Regions from separate parts of the Homo sapiens genome. Here region 2 is linked to region 1. The links are contacts of gene promoters, found by promoter capture Hi-C in blood cells and fetal thymus (Javierre and others, 2016). All regions are on one chromosome and are shown on one strand. Each heading gives the region's core, a stretch centred on a gene start or on the middle of the fragment in contact. The rest is flanking DNA. Distances are from core to core; before and after follow the strand shown.

Region 1 (2,913 bases), core at 1-2,500:
ATATTACCCGTTTTAAAATTGTACACACAGACCCTGCTTTAACCAGATGCCTGCAAATGCTCAGGTTTTCCTTCTACATATAGAAAACAATTTCTCAGCTGCCAGGGCTGAAGCCAGCAGATATGCACTAAACGACAGAACAACGGATTGTGCCAATAAAGTAGGCAAAGCTTCCTTGCCCAGAATATAAATCAAACTGAGTAAAAACTGGGTATATTGGCTCCAGGAAAAGGAGCAAGGACACCCAGCTTTCAGGCAACCTCGAATTCTCTCTGTTTAGGATTCACCAACCCCAAGGTCCACCGGGTCCTTCAATCTGAGGGTCCATCCAAGGCCTTCCTTCCTGGGGTTGGGTATGGCTAGCTGCCTGATGGAGAGACCCCAGGCTGTTCAGCAGCAACGCCTGGCACAGCCGAGGCAGCCTCGTAGTCTGCGATGCGGCGCTGTACCAGGGCAGGCATGAGCTGCACGTAAGCGGCCATGAGGCGGTGGTTGGAATGGATCAGCTTCCCAGCACAGCTGTGCAGACAGGCCTCCTAGAAGGAAGATAGGGTTTAAGTGGAGGATAAAGGTGCCCTGTCGGGTCCGCCTCCTTTCTTCCCCATGCCCAGCCTAGGGGTGAGGGTCGTGGGAAGGCCAGGGCCAGAGGTACGGGAAGTGGGGTGAGGAGGGAAGCAGTCTACCGCTAAACTCTTCTTGCAGCGTAACCTCCCTACACAGTTCCCCACCTCCTCAGCGTCCAGAGCTCGGTGGTGCAAGCTGGGCACACAGCGCTGGAAGCAGAGTTCTGTCATCCGATTGTAGACCAACAGGAAGTCACGCAGCTGAGAGAAAAGGGGGACCACAAACTCAGCGATAAGGGCCCCACACTTCTAGTCAAGGTCGCGCCGCCCAAAGTTTCCCAGGCCCGCGCGCCATAGCCCGAAGTTTCCAGCCCTCAAATCCCTGGCCCTGTGGGGTTCCCGCGATGTGTGCAGGAATGCGAGCTGAACGTCTGGCCTCGAAACGACTTAGTTCTCACTTACGTTTCGCAGTTGCTGTTGCTGCTGCTGCTGCCGCTCCATCACGCCACCGGCGCATGCCGTACGCCACTTCCGTTTCAGCTTCTCGGTGCCGCCCCGGAAGTAACCTCTCGCTGATCTCGAGAGCTAGCTCGAGTATCGCCCTGCCCTGGCTGCGACGTCAGCTCCGCCCTTATAATCTGCGACGTGGCCGGCTTCTTCTGCCCGGAGAGGACGTCATTTCCGCCGAGTCCCTGACCTGCTGCTAGGATCGCGACGGGAACTGGAGCCCGAGGTCCCCGCGCGGCCCGGGCCTGGCGCCCTGAGGGGAAGAGCGGCCCGGCCCGAGGTGAGAGGAACATGCTTGGGCGACGGGAAGTTGAACGCACAAACCTGTCCAGAGGGCAAGATGCCCCGAGCCCCGGGGAAGGATGAGGACACACCTGATGTCCAGGTGTATGGGGGTGGGGGCGGGGACTCACACACCTGGGAGACATAACTGACTGTGGAAGGGTCACCGATATCCTGGGAGAGAGAGGCTTTTACCAGAGACTGGGAACATACACCCACTGATCTAACTAAGGCCTGGTGGGGAGGGCCCGAGGAAGACGAGGTGTATGAGACGGAGGAGGGGAGACCCCCTGAAGGAAGGGGGAAGAAACGCTAAAGGAATGTGAAAGGCCAAGCAATGGAGAACAAACCTGAATAGGGGGGTGAAGACCTGAGCCCTGGAAAGGGTTCATCTCCTCAGCATAAACACGCCTGCATGGAGATAAGTTCTAAGAGAGCAGACTTTCCCTCTTCACTGTTGTATTTTCATTGTCACAAATAGTGCCTGACACATAGTAGGCACTCACTAAATGTCTGCTGAATGAGTGTAGAAATAATCACCAGAGTCCTGGTGAGGTTGGGGGCTTGTGAGAAGACACCGTGCTTTGGTGTGCCTGTTTCAAATGTGCGTTTTGGAGGGGAGAAATACATATATCTGAAGAAAGGAATGATGGCCAAACGCTGGGACACTCAAACCCTGGGACAGCCTTTAAAGAAATGACAGAGGAGGCCTCCTTCTTCTAGAGTGCTGGCCAGTGTCCAGAACTTCTGTGTTGGGCTTTGCAGGGTGCTGGGGTGGAGAGTTTTACTCCAATACCTTTCCTAGCCATGACGGACGGGATCCTAGGGAAGGCAGCCACAATGGAGATCCCTATCCACGGGAACGGCGAAGCCAGGCAGCTTCCTGAAGATGATGGGCTGGAGCAGGTGCTTCTGTTTGATTCTTCTAATTGTTTCAATTTAGGAATCCAATTTATAAATCCTAGGTTCTCACCCTCCATTCCAGTAGCCTTCCCCTGACTTATCTGACTCCCTTCATTCTTTTTACGTATCATTTTGATTCTGTGCAGACTTCCCTTGTGTACTATCTTTATGATGCTTGAATCCAAACTTGTTCCCACCTCCAAAATGCTTCTGCAGCCCCTATGTTCCTGAAGCAACCCCTCTTCTCTGGCCTATAGGACCTCCAGCAGGTGATGGTGTCAGGACCCAACCTCAATGAAACCAGCATTGTGTCTGGTGGCTATGGGGGCTCTGGTGATGGACTCATCCCCACAGGTATGAATGTTCAGAAACAGGAATCTTGGGTGGAGGAGGGGACAGGAATGGTTTGGGGAAGCATAGGATATGTCTAGGAAAGCTTGAATTATGTCTGGAGATCTTGGGAACTTCTGCTTGTAGGAACCTCATGGACTCTCCTCAGCCCAAAAGCAACTCCCAGCGTTGTCCATCCATTTCCCTTTTGCCACTTAGCCCCTGAAATGGCTCATTTGTCCTTTCCCTGCCACCACCTGAGTCAAGTTAAGACCTGCTTCACAGGAATGCCCCCCCTCTACAGCTTGAGGCTGAGTTGGAACTTTGT
Region 2 (2,887 bases), core at 291-2,790, 1.0 Mb before region 1:
ACACACACAGACACACACACAGAGTTGTCAACCAAGTAGTTCCTTTTGGCAGAGTTCTCTGAACCTTTCGCCAGAAGCAACTTGGAGAAGTTTGCTAAGAAGGCCTCTTGGGATAATCAGTGCAGTCACAGGAGTGGCCCTCCAGGTCAGAGTGAGAGGCCCAGCTGCATGTGATGGCTGCATTTCAACCATGCACACAAGTTACTGTGGAAGTGTAACTTTACCCTGGAGGGCAGGGACAAGAGTATCCCCACTAAACACACCTCACTGGCATCCCTAAGCAGGCAGAGAAATCCTGAGATCTGGATCACCTCCTTCCCTATTCCCAGGAGGAAAGAGACATACCTGAAGCAGAGCCACCTGGGAACACCACAGCGACCATAAGCCTGGGAAGAGGCAATGTAGGATCTAGTCCCCATAGCCTCCCTTGAGCTAACAAATCCCTTCCTGGAGATGCATTAGTGGTTCCTCCACCCACCTACTTCCTAAGAAATGGGAAGTGCAAATCTACGTCTGTAATCTGTGCAATTTGTGGCTGTCCCTGACACTTTACCATGGGTGAGCAGGCTCGTGCACATATTTTGGCCTTAATATGAAAAACAGAAACAAAAAACCTTCAGAACAAGATGAGGTATAAACTGGCAAGACCCCACTACAAAGCTCAAAAGAGAAAGGGAAGTTTGACAAGTTTTCCTTCAACGTTGGCTCCCAGTATTCTTTGTGTATATGTTTTTATTTGGCAACTACCACAACTCAGACAATAATTCAAATGTTTCACATTCATAAACCTGGCTCTTCCTCAAGAAACAGAAGTGACCACTGTGTCAGCGTCCATGACAAAGACAAGACTCCATCCTGGGAGGCTGGAGGCTGAGGAGCCTGGCTGGGCAAAGGTGTGTGGAAGGGAGGGGTGAGGAGGATTGAAGAACTCCAGCCTCAGGGCCACTGAGTCTCCCGACAGCAGTGCAGATTCCAGATAAGATCCTCACTCCTCATCGGACAGCTGTAGCCCTCATCCAGCCATCTGAGTCCCCGATCCTGACTCTACACCGGACCCTGCTTGGATGAGGTCCTCATGGCTGGTTGCCTTCCCTAGCTAGCTGTTCCCTGTACCCCCATCCCCACTCCAACACTATAAGAGGCAACTTCTCATGAACTGGCTGGATGTGCCCTGAAGTCTGGGTAGAGGAGGTGTTTGGGCCTTGGAATACAACTTCCCATGGAATTGATAAATTGATTGGTGGTTACATTCCCAGAAGAAAATTAATACACGTGCCCACATTGAGCATAATAAGTATAAGAGCGCTGATACCCTAAAAGTACTTCATATCTCCCATCAGCCCCACATACAGCTAGGCCACAGGGCAAAAAGGAGGCCTCATGAGCCTTCGGGCCCCCATGGCATTGGCAACTAGCAGACATTTCCCATCTGGGTGCTTGACCTATAAGACTCCAGCCTTAGCTGTTCTGCAGGCTGAATTCACCCCAAACCTGGTCTCATTCCCATTTTTCATTGCCTAATGGAATCTCCATCTCGACCTTCTGGCAGCTCTCCTCTGGCTAAACTCATGTGCTACAGAAGATAGAAGCCCAGGCCATAATGCCAGTAGACCTGGGTTCTACAATCAAGAGCTAAGTGATCTTGGGTAGGTTTCTCTGGGCTTCACCATCCTCTTATGGGTAAACATATAAAGGGCAAGCAAGAAACTACCCGAGGCTCCCTTCTGATTCCAAAAGAATCAACCACTTTCATTTCCCTTCCCCCTTCCACTAAGTTCCTCCATGCTTTCATGCTACTAACAGTTGCCTCATTCTTCTCCCAGCAAACTAACACACGTCAGTATCCAGTTTGACGCTTTTCTCTTTCCCTCAAATACAATCAGTCACCAAATCCTGCCGGATTTCTTGGCATGGTCACTTGCCTCTGCTCCCTTCTCTCTATTCCTACTGCCATTGCCTTGATTTAGGTCCTGAGCTACCTCAGTGGGTTATTCTAACAGCCTGTGCTCATAAGAAGTTCCTCCCTGTCCCTCCAACCTGCCCTTCCCAGCCACAATCATCCTGAACAGTTTTACCACGTCTTTTCCATACTTGAGTATGGAAACTTTAATGTCATCAGAATAAAATTTAAATTATATAGCTCCAACTTTCAAGGCCTTCCATGATCTCTTCCCAGCCTGGGACTCCATCTTCACCTCTCCCAGTGTCCACCCAACCCCCTGACTCTAGCCATATGGGCCCACTCTTCACTGGGCCTGTCCTTCCTCCCAGTCTTTCAGCTTCTGCTCCTCTTCCTTCTCTCGTCTACCATACGAAATAACCAGCCCCTTTCCCTCTTTACTGAGGTAAACATTGCAAAGCCAGCCAGCTTAAGGCCCATATCTACCACAGACTCCTCCTGGACATCTGCTAAGTGTGGGGCCACGCACAAGAGCTGATACAGCCCTAAAGCAGCTCAGAGTTTGGAGGAATATGGACAGAGACATAGACATAAAGTGATGAAATAGCATAGCAGATCTTTGTTTGATGTGATATGTATGTAACAGAAGAGTAAAAACGACTTAGGGGCAAGGGAGCTTTAAGAATTTGATCTATATCCTGAAGGATTAATAATCTTGCAGAATAGAGACAAAAGGGCTTTCCAGGAAGATAAAATAGTGTATGCAAATGCAGATAGGCACAAAAGAATAGAAATTACTCAGCTTCTCAGTTTGGGGAACAGTGGAGAGGCAGCTGGAGAGCTAAAGTAGGGCCCACCACTGTAGAGATTTGAATGCCATACAAGGATGGTGTATTTTATCCTATCAGAGAGACAGTCCTATTCCTTCTGTGTCTAGGCCTCCCATCTACAGGTATGTTAGGGATCATGATTACTATGCAACATAGA

Evidence for each region. Contacts are between HindIII fragments. The CHiCAGO score rates a contact against its expected background, and 5 or more counts as called.
Region 2: a fragment that was not itself captured here is called in contact with the fragment with the promoter of ARFIP2 in region 1 in 5 of 17 cell types (M0 macrophages, M2 macrophages, total B cells and 2 more); the score reaches 7.3 in M0 macrophages.

Annotation. Positions count from the first base shown.
Region 1 is chr11:6,479,668-6,482,580 of GRCh38, reverse strand. ARFIP2 (ARF interacting protein 2) reads left to right here and starts at 1,250. Exons shown (of 8, transcript NM_001376558.2): 1 at 1,250-1,350; 2 at 2,118-2,258; 3 at 2,513-2,609. The coding sequence starts at 2,160. It overlaps TIMM10B (translocase of inner mitochondrial membrane 10B), which reads right to left and starts at 1,080. Exons shown (of 3, transcript NM_012192.4): 1 at 1,026-1,080; 2 at 729-824; 3 at 1-536. The coding sequence starts at 1,064. The coding sequence ends at 360. RefSeq lists enhancers at 972-1,021, 1,502-1,621, 458-1,657. The HindIII fragment of the contact is 2,521 bases long and covers 173-2,693 here.
Region 2 is chr11:7,521,237-7,524,123 of GRCh38, reverse strand. All of the region lies in intron 1 of PPFIBP2 (PPFIB scaffold protein 2), which reads right to left. All of the region lies in intron 1 of LOC124902806 (leucine-rich repeat extensin-like protein 5), which reads left to right. Among named protein-coding and RNA genes, the nearest start is that of PPFIBP2, 8.7 kb to the right of the region's middle. RefSeq lists a silencer at 2,340-2,540 and enhancers at 2,618-2,797, 2,868-2,887. The HindIII fragment of the contact is 3,283 bases long and covers 1-2,887 here.